3 separate regions of the Homo sapiens genome follow, and all the other regions are linked to region 2. The links are contacts of gene promoters, found by promoter capture Hi-C in blood cells and fetal thymus (Javierre and others, 2016). All regions are on one chromosome and are shown on one strand. The core of a region is centred on a gene start or on the middle of the fragment in contact, and the rest is flanking DNA. Distances in the headings are between cores, read along the strand shown.

Region 1 (4,718 bases), core at 2,165-4,664, 340 kb before region 2:
CTTGGTGCCCACCAGCAAATCCCCCTGGGGAGAAGCACTCAGCGCAGTGAGTGTGGGGAAGGCTTCCTCTGGGTCAGAGGTCTCCTCTCACATCACAGAAGCTGCAGTGGGGAGAAGCCTGCAGGGAGAGTGGCAAAGCCATGACCCACTGCTTCCTTAGGGTTTCTCCCAGTGTGGGTGCCTTGTCAGGTTTCTGCTCTGAGATTTTCCCACACACCTCACATTCACATGTTTCTCCCCAGTGTGGTTGCTGATGCAGGCACGGCCTCTGGTGCCCACTTCAGCCTTTCCCATACTCAATGCCCCTCAAATGGTTTCTCCAACCCTGCCCTGAGTTGCACCATGAGGCCCCTGGCCCTATTGAGCACTCCCTGATGTAGACTCTTTGATGGGCAGCAACGGCTGAGCTCCAGGTTAAAACTTGCCCATGCTCATTACATACATAGGATTTTTTTTCAGTATGCACTTGCTGATGTTGCCTAAGATATGAAATCTGGCTGAAAGATTTTCCACAGTTGGGCAAATCTTTCAGGGGAGTCTAGCCCCAGAATGTCTCCTCTGGTGGGGCATAAGGGATAGAGCTCAGAGTGAAGGACTTCCCACACTCACATTGACAGAACCTTACCCCACTGTGAATTCTCTCTCAATGATGAAAAGCTAGATGCAGGGGAACTCTACCACATTCACCATATTTACAGCTTTGCGTTCTATGGAAACCTTGTGATGTTGAACTAAGTTGGAGCTGGAACTGAATCTTTGTCCAAATCCCTTATATTTCTGGCCTCCCTAACTTGTGGAGATTTTTGTTTTTAATCCTTAGTTGTTTTCACATGAGATCTCTTGCTATTTATGTTCTTTCCTAAAGGATTTCCCTGTATCTTTTCTAAGTTGTTTTTCATTTCACAGGCTGCTCCAGATTCAAACATCTGTTTTTCCCCTGATATTAATGTCAGTGAATTTATCATCATATTCTGAACCAGAATCAACATCTTGCTCTGAGTTCTGTTCTAACCCTCTGCCAAGAATAGAAAAGGCAAATACAAGAGGCATACAGGAAAGTTACTAGAACACTAGTGGGGCCCTTTGAGAGGGTAGGTCAGAGACCATTGTGAGACTCAGTGCAGAGAAGATGGAATGGAGAGCACACCAAGGAGATGGGGTCAGCAAACCAACTACAAGGAATTGAACTCTTCGGTAGCAAACAAGGGAAGGCTAGCAGGTGATGAGGGAAAGCCAAGACAGGAACTCTCACAGTAGAGAACTGTACAGGGAGGAAAACTCTGTTTTCTCTTCCTGATGAGAAAGCTTACTTTGACAACTGCCCTTCCCACCCCCTTTCTAAAGTTCCCCAGCAAAAGAGAGGCCGTTGCTAATTGGATGAGTCAGAGTCCCAGACATTAGCTGGCCAACCTTATTTAGTGGACATGATAAATGTTTCTTTTAAAGCTGGGACCTTCATTGCCCTCTCTTTTTGTGACTTTGTTCTTCTGCTATGGGACAGGGCAGAGGGTAATAGCCTGAGATTTGGTTGCAGCCTCCAGAGGGCAGTAGAAGTCTTGCTTGAGTCTGATCTAAAAAGCAGGACAGCATATACTGATCTTCATGGTTTCTTGGTATGATTATTAATGGCAGACCCTTTCTTTCACTCATTTTTATTCTACAGAGTTTCCCAGTTTGGACAATAAATTATGGTCATCCAAGAGTCATGTCATCAAACTCATCTTCAGCAGAGGGCCTGAATTAGGGAAACAGGCACCAACTCAGTAATGATGAGATACAGTTGGTAAGTTCCATTTCCTAACAGGCTACTGTTCCTTGCATGGATCTCCTTTGGGAATTCAGCATGGAGGAAGTGGGACTGGCAGAGCAGGAGTCAGTCTTCCCGGATCCTTCATCAGAATATTTCATTTCTAATACAGGACAAGAGGAGTGATTCTCTGTTGGACTGGGAGGCCCAATAATTAAATGGGGGCAAGGGATGGAAATAAGAACATTCAAGGCCAGGCGTGGTGACTCATGACTGTAATCCTAACACTTTGGGAGGCTGAGGCAGGTGGATCACCTGAGGACAGGAATTCGAGACGAGCCTGGCCAACATGGTGAAAACCTGTCTCTACTAAAAATACAAAAATTAGCTATTCAGGAGGCTGAGGCAGGGAATTGCTTGAACCTGGGAGGCAGAGTTTGCAGTGAGCCTAGATTGCACCACTGTACTCCAGCCTGGGTGGCAGAGTAAGGCTGTCTCAGGAAAAAAAAAAAAAAAAAAAAAAAATTTGAAAGGAACACAGTCTTTGAAAGAATGAGAAACAATGCTTTCAATGGGGAGTGGGTACAGGCCATGAAGAGGGAGCTATCTCGCTGTGTCTTAAACCAGAAAGCTCTGCATGTGAGGTGGGCCCAGAAAAGATGAAGGTGACTCTAGAAAGACCCAGTGTGCCTACGGGTGTAAGCCTTCTAAGTCTCCCTGTTTCTGGTTTTTCCACTCAATTTTTACTGCACCAAAGAGCAGACAAGGAGGAATATAGGAGAGAAAGCATGGGCCATAAAAGACACTAATATAGTGTTACAAAGTCCAAGTCTATCCTTAATCACAATGTATACAAACATGTTATGTTTCCTCATTAAAAGGAAGGAGGGAGACAGAGAAGGGAGGAGACTTTTTACAAGAGATTTACCTACAATAAAACCAAACAATAGAAAAGGTTGAAAAGAAAGGAAGGAAAAAGGGTACACCAAGCAAGTTCTAACAACAAGAGAAAAAGCTGTGTAGAATTATTAATATGAGACAAAACAGACTCTAAGGCTAAGCATTTAATGGGCATAGAATGGAATATTTCATATTGATAAAAAACCAATAATCAATCCCTAAGTTGTCGAACAATGTCCAAGTCAGGAAACCTAGAAGTTACTCTTTTTTTCTTTTTTTTTGAGATGGAGTTTCCCTCTTGTTGCCCAGGCTAGAGTGCAATGGCACAATCTCGGCTCACTGCAACCTCCTCTGCCTCCTGAGTTCAAGCGATTCTCCTGTCTCAGCCTCCCAAGTAACTGGGATTACAGGCATACACCACCATGCCTGGCTAATTTTGTATTTTTAGTAGAGACAAGGTTTCACCATGTTGGCCAGGCTGGTCTCAAACTCCTGACCTCAAGTGATCCATCTGCCTCAGCCTCCCAAAGTGCTGGGATTACAGGCATGAACCACCACGCCCAGTCTAGAAGTTGCTCTTAATTCTCCACCCTCTCACATCTAAAACATCAGCAAGTCCAGTTTATTCTTCTTCCAAAATGCATTGTAAATCCACCCATTTCTTTCCATCTCCACAGCACATCATCCCTAGTCCTGGCCACCATCTTCTCTCAAATGTAGTCCTGCAATGGTGCTCTAACTGGCCTCCTGACACTGAAATTAATCTCCCCCAAGCAACTTCAAATTGGTTAACCTGGCCAACATGGTCTTCCGCAGGCAGGCCTCTGCCCAACTCTGACTGCACCTCTGACACTGTGACTCTCATCCAGGCACAGTGGCCTCCCTTCTGTCACCTGATCAGCCCAATCAGTTACATCTTGAGCCTTTGCAGCAACTTTTCCCACTGCATAGAATGCTCCTTTCTCACACCTTCAGGGGTATAGCAGTCCTTTAAAATTCATCTGTTAGTTTAAATGGCACCCCCTAAGAAAGGAGGGTGAAGTTTTTCAATACTTGTTAATATAGGAGCATAAGAATTACTGTAATTATCTTTCAACCTATTTGTTACCTTTATAAATAAACTTCTTATGACATAGACTACTAACACTAATCTGTGAAATGTTGAATTATGATGAAAACAGAGAACTGAGAGGCTGGGCACGGTGGCTCGTGCCTGTAATCCCAGCACTTTGGGAGGCTGAGGCAGGAGGATTACTTGAGGCCAGAAGTTTGAGACCAGCCTGGGCAACATAGTGAGACCCCTGTCTCTACAAAAAAACAATATAAAAATCAGCTGGACGTGGTGACACACACCTATAGTCCCAGCTACTCAGAAAGCTGAGGAGGGAAGACAGCTTGAGCCCAGGAGGTCAAGGATGCAGTGAGCTATGATCACACCACTTCACTCCAGCCTGGGCGACAGAGTGAGACCCTGTCTCAGAGACAGCGAGAGCAAATGGGGGTAGGGGGGAACACTAAGGATTCTCCTTCAAATAGTCCAATTTATTTCTTTTTTGTTTTTTTGAGACGGAGTCTTGCTCTGTCGCCCTGGCTGGAGTGCAGTGGTGCGATCTCGGCTCACTGCAACCTCCGCCTTCAGCGTTCAAGCAATTCTCCTGCCTCAGCCTCCCAAGTAGCTGGGATTACAGGCGTGCGCCACCACACCCGGCTAAATTTTGTATAAAACAAGTACCATCCACTAGATGGCGCTTCTAGCCTGTTCTATCCTGTTCTTGACTCTTTTCAGGACCCTGGACAGTGCCTGGTGTACAGCAACCGTTCCGTAACTATTGAATGATTTGTCATAAACTTACATGCACCCTGAACCTATCAGCACAGCTTTAAAATATATAAGGCAAATGGGTCTACAAAAAGAAAGAGACGAGTGTGAAGCCAACCCACACCCCTTAGAAACATACTAGGGAAACCCAAAACAACAAAGAACTTTTTAAATGCAAAAGTAGAATGACTGCTTTTACCCTCTGTATTTCTGAATTATTTTTTCAGGATTAATATGTATTACTTTGATAAA
Region 2 (4,239 bases), core at 801-3,300:
CAAAAACCTCTGACTTCATTATTGTTATTCAGAGTAACCAGGGTCATTGCTCTCTGGCTTGCCTTAAAGCCAGCAAAGGCAATTGCCCATCCCTGGGCTTTTGGTCTGGAAGAGACCGTTGGCATCATTATTCAGCCCCCTCACTTTTCAGGTAAGGAGCTAATGAAGACAACATTCCCAGTGACACACGGCAAGTTACTGTGGTGTTGGGGTTTCAGTGTCAGGAGTCTCCTCTCTTCCTCTGGCATTTCTGCTACTATGCCAGGCTGGCTCCTTTCAGTAGACATAACATCATTGAAAAATACCACAAGTGCCCCTGTGGAGAGCAGAGCAGATAGCCATTAAAATTACAAAAGCTTATGCTTTTTGGCCCAACATTTCCACTTCAAGGCATTCAATTCTTCCTATAGATACACTCATGTGAGGGTAAAATGATCTCTGTATAACCTTATTCTTTGCAACACTGATTGTAATAAGGAAATATTGGAAGCAACCCAGATGCCTATGGGTGGGAGGTGAGTTACATAAATTAGGGACCATCCACACAAACAGAATATGTGCAGCTGTGAAAAGACTGGGCCACCTCTCCATGTGCAATAGGAACAGCTCCATCTTGCCAGGCGTGGTGGCTCACACCTGTAATCCCAGTACTTTGGGAGGTGAAGGTGGGGCGGATCCCTTGAGCCTAGGCATTCCAGACCAGCCTGGGCAATGCAGTGATATGCTCTCATTGTGTAAATAAAACAAAATAATACATTATTTGCTTTGCAGATGCCACTGCCGCCAGGAGCCCTGTAACATCAGCCATCGTCAACCCCACCGTGTTCTTCAACATCACCGTTGACGGCAAGCCTTTAGACCTGCGTCTCCTTCAAGCTGTTTGCAGACAAGGTTCCAAAGCCAGCAGAAAACTTTTGTGCTCTGAGCACTGGAGAGAAAGGATTTGGTTATAAGAGTTCCTGCTTTCACAGAATTATTCCAGGGTTTATGTGTCAGGGTGGTGACTTCATACGCCATAATGGCACTGGTGGCAAGTCCATCTATGGGGAGAAATTTGATGATGAGAACTTCATCCTAAAGCATACAGGTCCTGGCATGTTGTCCATGGCAAATGCTGGACCCAATACAAATGGTTCCCAGTTTTTAATCTGCACTGCCAAGACTGAGTGGTTGGATGGCAAGCTTGTGGTCTTTGGCAAGGTGAAGGCATGAATATTGTGGAGGCCATGGAGTGCTTTGTGTCCAGGAATGGCAAGACCGGCCAGAAGATCACCATTGCTGACTGTGGACAGCTCTTATAAGTTTGACTTGTGTTTTATCTTAACCACCAGACCATTCCTTCTGTAGCTCAGGGGAGCACCCTCCACCCCATTTGCTCCCAGTATCCTAGAATCTTTGTGCTCTCGCTGCGGTTCCCTTTGGGTTCCATGTTTTCCTTGTTCCCTTCCATGCCTAGCTGGATTGCAGAGTTAAGTTTATGATTATGAAATAAAAACTAAATAACAAAATAATAATAATAGTACATTATTTGCTTCTCAGTGCATACAACATCTCTGGAAAGATCTAAAAGAAACTGGTAGTAGGATTCAACAAGGTGGACAGGGGGCATTTTTTTCCATTTTGAACCATGTGGATGCATTATATATTCAAAATGTAAAACAAAAAACTCACAAGCATCTCTTACTTTTTCAACTTGAAGAAAAGAGAAGAAGAAGAAAACCCTAAAGTCAGTAAAGGTTAGCCTGGGTTCCTAGACTTAAGCTTGATAGTAACCAGAATGTCAGGCCACATGTGGTGTAGGTCATAGGGTCCTGGCTTTTGGTCACCCACTGTTAGGCTCATATAACAGACAAGGAGGTGCCATTGTCCGTTGTCTGTCCCTTTTACATCAGCTCATCTTGGCTCCTGATTTCCTGGGTCTGATATGGAAGATTCCGGGATTTTATTATTTCTAATCAACATCGCCTTCCCAAACCCCGCCCCTTGGCAGCCATAGCAAGGCCACATCTAGCCCAGGATCACATAAAAAGGGCTGTTTCCTCCCCTGAGGACCGACTGTGTGGAAGCACCAGGCATCAGAGATAGAGTCTTCCCTGGCATTGCAGGAGAGAATCTGAAGGGATGATGGATGCATCAAAAGGTGAGTGGGTGAAATCTCCATGGAGCCCCACATGCCCCTTCAGCCAGCTGGCCCTAAACTGCTCTCTTGCCTCTGCCGGGTGCCTGGGGCCATTGCCCTCTCACCCTGACTTGTGGCCCTGGTGCTGCTTGCTTTCTGTCTCATCCCTTTTTAGAAAACCCACAAACTTTTCATTTAGGCATAATTTCAGATTTACAAAAAGATTGCAAGAATAAAAAGAAGAATTTCCATATATCCTTTATCCAGATTCCCTAAATTATTACTGCATTTGCTTTATCCTTCTCGATCAGTGGACAGATAGATGATATAGACAGATAGATAGACAAATATATATTTTTTGAACTCTTGAGAGTAAGTTGCAGATATTACATTATTAAATATTTTGGTGTGTATTTCCTAAAGACAAGGACATTCTCTTACGTAACCAATACAATTATGAAGACCAGGACATGAACACCATTTCAATACTGTTATCCAACCCACAGATTTTATGCAGATTTCATCAACTGTCCCAATAATGTCATTTATAGCAGAAGAAAATCCTGGGTTAGGCTTTGCATTCCGTTGTTGTGCCTCTTCGGTCTCCTTTGTCTGGAATAGTTCTTCTGTCATTCTTGGAGTTTTGTGACTTCAACACTTTTGAAGAGTACAGACCAGTTATTTTGTAGAATGTCTCTCAATGTGTCCTGTCCTTTCTCAAGGTCACCTGATGGATTTCCCTACTGCAGAGGGTCTGTCTGCTGCTGTCAGCAGTGTCATTGCTTCTCAGAGTGGGGAATAGCAGAGCGGAGTCATGTGCCAGGCTCTGTGTCCCATGAGGATGCAGCCGCCTACCACCACCAAGAGCAGACACCAGAGCCCTCAGTTTTACTTCAGGGAGTCCGGGTGCTGCTAGGGAACAACGAGGCTGGGTTTGAACCCCTCTGCTGACTCCCCAGCCCACAAGCCCTCTGTAACCTCCCAGCAGGGTTTGCTCAGCAGCCTTCTCTCTTGCTTGAGAAGCTGCTTGATAAGCCAAGGAATGGCTGCTTTGAAACTCTGCAAAGGGACTAAGCCAGACCCTCCTAGTTTCCACCTTCTTTTTTGGAGGGTGACATTGCGAAATAAATCAGACTCTTCTTTTTAGTCCCAAGGCCACAGAGTTTTGAATTCCTCCTTAGATGGCTGACGCCTCAGCTAGACTCAGTCTTGGAGGGTACAGAGTCCTTAGGACTGAGAAAGGGTGGTGTGGTGTGATGGGAAGCACCTGCTGATTTGAGAGAAGATTCATGTCTAAATAGCCCTGTGGCTTTGGGCAGGTTACATCAATCCCGTGAAAGCACTATATAAATTACTGAGGACTACCTGAAGGAAAGGTAGTCCTGACCCACACTGTCATTTTCAAGAGGTGTGACCTGTTCACTGGGGAGGTTTGATGACTTGACTGAGGTCCCAGCCATGGGTGGCAGAGCTGGGACACAAACCCGGCGTGTGTTCATTTCATGCCACACTATGCTGCCTCCCTGCTGGGCACAATTTGACTTTACTCTCAAGGTCTAAATCACCAAAGACAGTCATCTCCTGGCCACCAGTGTTGGGGTGTTGGTGAGGGGAGCTGACGCTCCCTGAGGTGTCCTTTCTGATGGGCTTGTGCAAGTAACCATCACATGCCACCTTACAACATTAGCAAGTTGTGATGACTCCATGGTGTTTTCATGAATATGATTTCATTTGTTCTTCCAACCACTCTAGGAGGTCAGGACATCCAAATAGGGACCTGGAAGATGGTGATATGTGTGGGATAAAGGTAGGATTTCATATAAATGGAGGAAATGAGAAATTGTGCACTTTATGGTATTAGGACAACTGGTTAGTATTTAGAGAAAAACAAAGCCAGATATCTATCTCATGGCTTATCCCACAACGAATCCCAGAAAGGTCGAAGACGAAACTGTAAAGGCAATAGAAGAAAATGAAGGCAATATGAAAAATAATCTTAGAGTAGAGAAGGTGTTACAAAGGAAAATAGAAAACCTAGAAACATAAAGGAAAAGAACAGTAAAACTGACTCCAGAAAAATTAAAAATATGTGTAAGACAAAACCTCCAGAGTCAGAAGGT
Region 3 (4,189 bases), core at 1,224-3,723, 380 kb before region 2:
AGGAGGCAAAATAATACTCAGATGTGATACATGTTATCTCCAATAGACAAACAGGCATACCAGCTATTGAGCTTCTTTTAGGTGGGGGCTGCCAAGGACAATATTTGACTTTATCAGGAATACTCCTCTAATTACTGGACCAGGTAGCTCCAGGGACTGCACTTGTTGGGCAAGTCTTGGGATCTTATCAGGGCTGACAACTCAACCTGCATGTGTCATATTATCTATGACCTTATGTATGGAGTGGTCAACTTGTTTCATAGGCTGGCAATGAGCATGTTATTAATATAGTGGATGACAAGTACTTTTCGAAGTAACTGGACATGTTGCAGGTCAGGGGAATGGAAGTATTGCTATGGACTGAACTGTGCCCCCAAAATTCATATGTTGAAGCCCTGAGCTCTGACATGATTGTATCTGAAGTCCTAAAGCCAGGAATGAGGAAGGCTGTGAATGTCCATTGTTCCATACAAGAATGACTCTTCTCTTGGCTATTTAGAGATCATGAGGGATACTGCCCCAGTTTCCACAGGCCAGATGGTCTCCAACAAAAGCCACGGGGGAGTCACCCCTGCCTGGCAGATCTATCGGGTCAGGACCACCGCCCAGGGGGTCCTGGAGAGGACAGTATAGGACCAAAGAGGATTATTCATGAGCCTAAGATCTCATGAAACGTGCCTTGCTAAGTTTTAGACTTGCATAGGACCATCATCCCCCTGCTCCCCCATCCTTTTTTATTTTTTATTGATAGGGTTTCACTCTGTCATCCAGGCTGGAGTGCAGTACGATCACAACTCACTGTAGCCTCGAACTCCCATGCTCAAGCCACCATGCCCAACTAATTATTTTTATTATTTTTGTAGAAATAAGGTCTCCCTATGTTGCCCAGGCTGGTCTCGAACTCCTGGACTCAAGCAATCCTCCCACCTCAGCCTCCCAAAGTGCTAGGATTAAAGGCATGAGCTATCACACCCAGCCTCATCATCCCTTTCTTCCTTCCAATTTCTCACTTTTGGAATTGGAATACCTAATCCTGCCTATCCCATCACTGTATTTTGGAAGCACATAACTTGTCTGGTTTCATAGGTTCACAGCTGGAGGGGAATTTTGCCTCAGGATAAGCTAAACCTTGGGTCTCACCCATATCTGATTTAGATATTTTTGAGACAAAGTCTCACTGTCGCCCAGGCTGGAGTGCAATGGTGCGATCTCGGCTCACTGCAACCTCTGTCTCTCGGGTTCAAGCGATTCTCCTGCCTCAGCCTCCCCGTGTAGCTGGGATTACAGGTGCACACCATCACGCCCAGCTAATTTTTGTATTTTTAGTAGAGATGGGGTTTCACCATGTTGGTCAGGCTGGTCTCGAACTCCTGACGTAGTGATCCACCCGCCTCGGCCTCCCAAAGTGCTGGGATTACAGGCGTGAGCCACCATGCCCGGCCTTTATTTAGATATTTAGATATTTAGATGAGACTTTGGACTTTAAATGTTAGTTGATACTAGAATGAGTTAAAACTTTGGAGGCTGTTAGGATGGAATGAACTTATTTTGTATGTAAGGATATGAATAGAGTGGCTAGGAGTGGAATGTTATAGAATGAATATTTATGTTGAAGCCCTAACCCCAAATGTTATATTTGGGGGTGGGGGGCCTTTGGAAAATAACTAGGATTGGAGTAGGTCATGAGAATGGGGCTGTCACTCTCACTAACGCCCTTAAAAGACTTGGAAGAGGCACCAGTGCTCTTGCTCTCTGAAATTTGAGGACACAGGAAAAAGGGGGCCATCTGCAAACCAGGAAGAGAGCCCTCACCAGCACTCAACCATTCTGGCATCTTGATGTTGAATTATGAAGACTACAGAACTGTGAGAAATAAATGTCTGTTGTTTAAGCCATCCTCTATGGTATTTTGTTATAATAGCTCAAACTGACTAAAACAGTTGCTAAAGATATATCCCTCCCAATCCCCTCACCCAAAGAACCAGGCCCAGTTACTTTTAGCAAGCCTTCAAGGAACAATTCCCATGTTATACAAACTCTCCATAGCAATAAGATAAACAAAATTTTTTCCAAATTCTTTTGCAAAGCTAGCAAAGCATTACCAAATTGAATCTACTTCTGTACTTAATAAAAATTCACTATGAACAAATAGATTTTACTTGAAAAGTACAAGGAAATTGCAAATATTTGCAAACTTGTCAAGAAAATGAATTACAAAAAGAAAAAACCATAACTCATAAAATTACAATGATGGAGTTTTTAAACTTGATATAATATAGCAACCAATCCTAATAAAAACTTTTTAAGTATAGGCCAGGCATGGTGGCTCACACCTGTATTCCCAGCACTTAGAGAAGCTGAGGCAGGATGATCGCTTGAGGCCAGGACCGCAAGACCAGCCTGAGCAAAATAGTGAAACCCCATGTTTACAAAAAATAAAAATAAAAACTTAGTCGGGCATGGTGGCACATGCCTGTATTCCTAACTATAGGGGAGGTTGAGGCAGGAGCATCTCTTGAGCCCAGGAGTTCAAGGCTGAGGTGACCTATGGTCACATCACTACACTCCAGCCTGAGCAACAGAGGGAGACCTTGTCAAAAAAAAAAACAGAAAACAAAACTGTAAGTATAATAATAATTGGGAAACTGTGCACTGTGTGCCCAGTATTGTTACAATAATGTATTCTTCACAACCCTATGAGGTAGCTCCATTTTATAGATGGAGGAATAAGATACAAGGAAGGTAAGTGATTTGCCCAGGATCACACACCTAACAAAGTGGTGGACTCAGGATTTGAACCTAGGGCACTGGGAACAAAATCTGTGCTCTTAACCACTAAACTACACTGCTTCTTCTAGAAATAAGATTAGAAGGAAACTTCCTAAATCTAACAGAACATCAGAATCCAACAATGAACACGATATGAAACTGCAGAATACTAAAAACATTCCCCCAAGCGTTAAGAGAAAGACATCTACTGTTCCATGTTTTCTGAAGTTCTTGCTAATGCACAACATAAGTGACATCAAAAGACAAATAAATCATTATTTATTCTAAACCTAGAAAAGCTAGGAAATGAATCTAACAAATTATTAAACCTAAAAATAATTTATCAACATAATTGGATCCAGATAAAATTTGTTTAAATCAATAATTAAAGTTTATACTAGCAGTGACCAATAGAAATTGAAGTATGGCTTTCAAATGCAGCCAGTTTTCCTCCATCCAAGAGCCTGAGGCTTTTTCAGGATTCACTTGTACTGAGCACCCACACCAGACTGGTGGCAGTGAGTTAATATAGTTAGGAAATGGTGCACATTCCCACACTCTGGAGGCTTAGTATGGTAGGGGATGAGCAGGCAAGAACCAGAAGGTAAAACTGCAGCTTCCAACAGGCAGGATGGTTCTTCTGCAGACATGACTGGCAATGTCCAACTCAGGGCGGGGAACCAGAAATGTCCAACTCATGTGCTCATATAGTGTGGGGCTCTTCCCTGAAATCTGGGGGCTCCCAAAATAAGACAGTTAAAGAGGAAAAAGTCCTATCTGCATATCTTTTAAAAGAAAATGGAAAAAAATACAAAAAAACAAGCTGAAAACATTTAAAATACATATTCACAAATGGTAAAATTCCAGCCGTGTCATGAGCTCCGGTTTGTTGTTTTGTTGTTGTTATTGAGACAGAGTCTCGCTCTGTTGCCCAGGCTGCAGTACAGTGGTGTGATCTTGGCTCACTGCAATCTCTGCCCTCCAGGTTCAAGTGATTCTCTTGCCTCAGACTCCTGAATAGCTGGGATTACAGGCGTGCACCACCACACCCAGCTAATTTTTGTATTTTTAGTAGAAACGGGGTTTTACAATGTTGGCCAGGCTGGTCTCAAACTCCTGGACTCAGGTGATCTGACCGCCTCAGCCTCCCAAAGTGCTGGGATTACAGGCATGAGCCACTGTGCCCAGACAAGTTTAGAAATTTCAAAAGGCCCTGAAAAACTTTAGGCCCCCAGTAATCCTTTCTAACTTTGTCTGAGACATCTCCCCAACAATCACATTTAATTCTAATTTTCTTGATCCTCAACTCTCTTTCCTTTCTCCTGCATTGTCTGAAACATACACCACAGTGCACAAAATCACCCCTCCAGGTTACATGACTGACATTGCCCCTCTAGCCTCCTCCTCCACCTTTGTCATA

What was found. Contacts are between HindIII fragments. The CHiCAGO score rates a contact against its expected background, and 5 or more counts as called.
Region 1: a fragment that was not itself captured here is called in contact with the fragment with the promoter of TGM4 in region 2 in 16 of 17 cell types (M1 macrophages, naive CD8 T cells, M2 macrophages and 13 more); the score reaches 13.4 in M1 macrophages.
Region 3: a fragment that was not itself captured here is called in contact with the fragment with the promoter of TGM4 in region 2 in 1 of 17 cell types (total CD8 T cells); the score reaches 5.2 in total CD8 T cells.

What each region holds. Positions count from the first base shown.
Region 1 is chr3:44,528,588-44,533,305 of GRCh38, forward strand. It overlaps the pseudogene LOC100419748. Among named protein-coding and RNA genes, the nearest start is that of ZNF852, 20 kb to the left of the region's middle. RefSeq lists silencers at 4,270-4,398, 4,290-4,584. The HindIII fragment of the contact is 4,223 bases long and covers 1,304-4,718 here.
Region 2 is chr3:44,872,558-44,876,796 of GRCh38, forward strand. It overlaps TGM4 (transglutaminase 4), which reads left to right and starts at 2,051. Exons shown (of 14, transcript NM_003241.4): 1 at 2,051-2,140. The coding sequence starts at 2,122. It also overlaps the pseudogene PPIAP18. The HindIII fragment of the contact is 7,350 bases long and covers 1,760-4,239 here.
Region 3 is chr3:44,492,512-44,496,700 of GRCh38, forward strand. It overlaps ZNF852 (zinc finger protein 852), which reads right to left. Exons shown (of 4, transcript NM_001423469.1): 4 at 1-4,189. Among named protein-coding and RNA genes, the nearest start is that of ZNF852, 16 kb to the right of the region's middle. The HindIII fragment of the contact is 5,935 bases long and covers 1-4,189 here.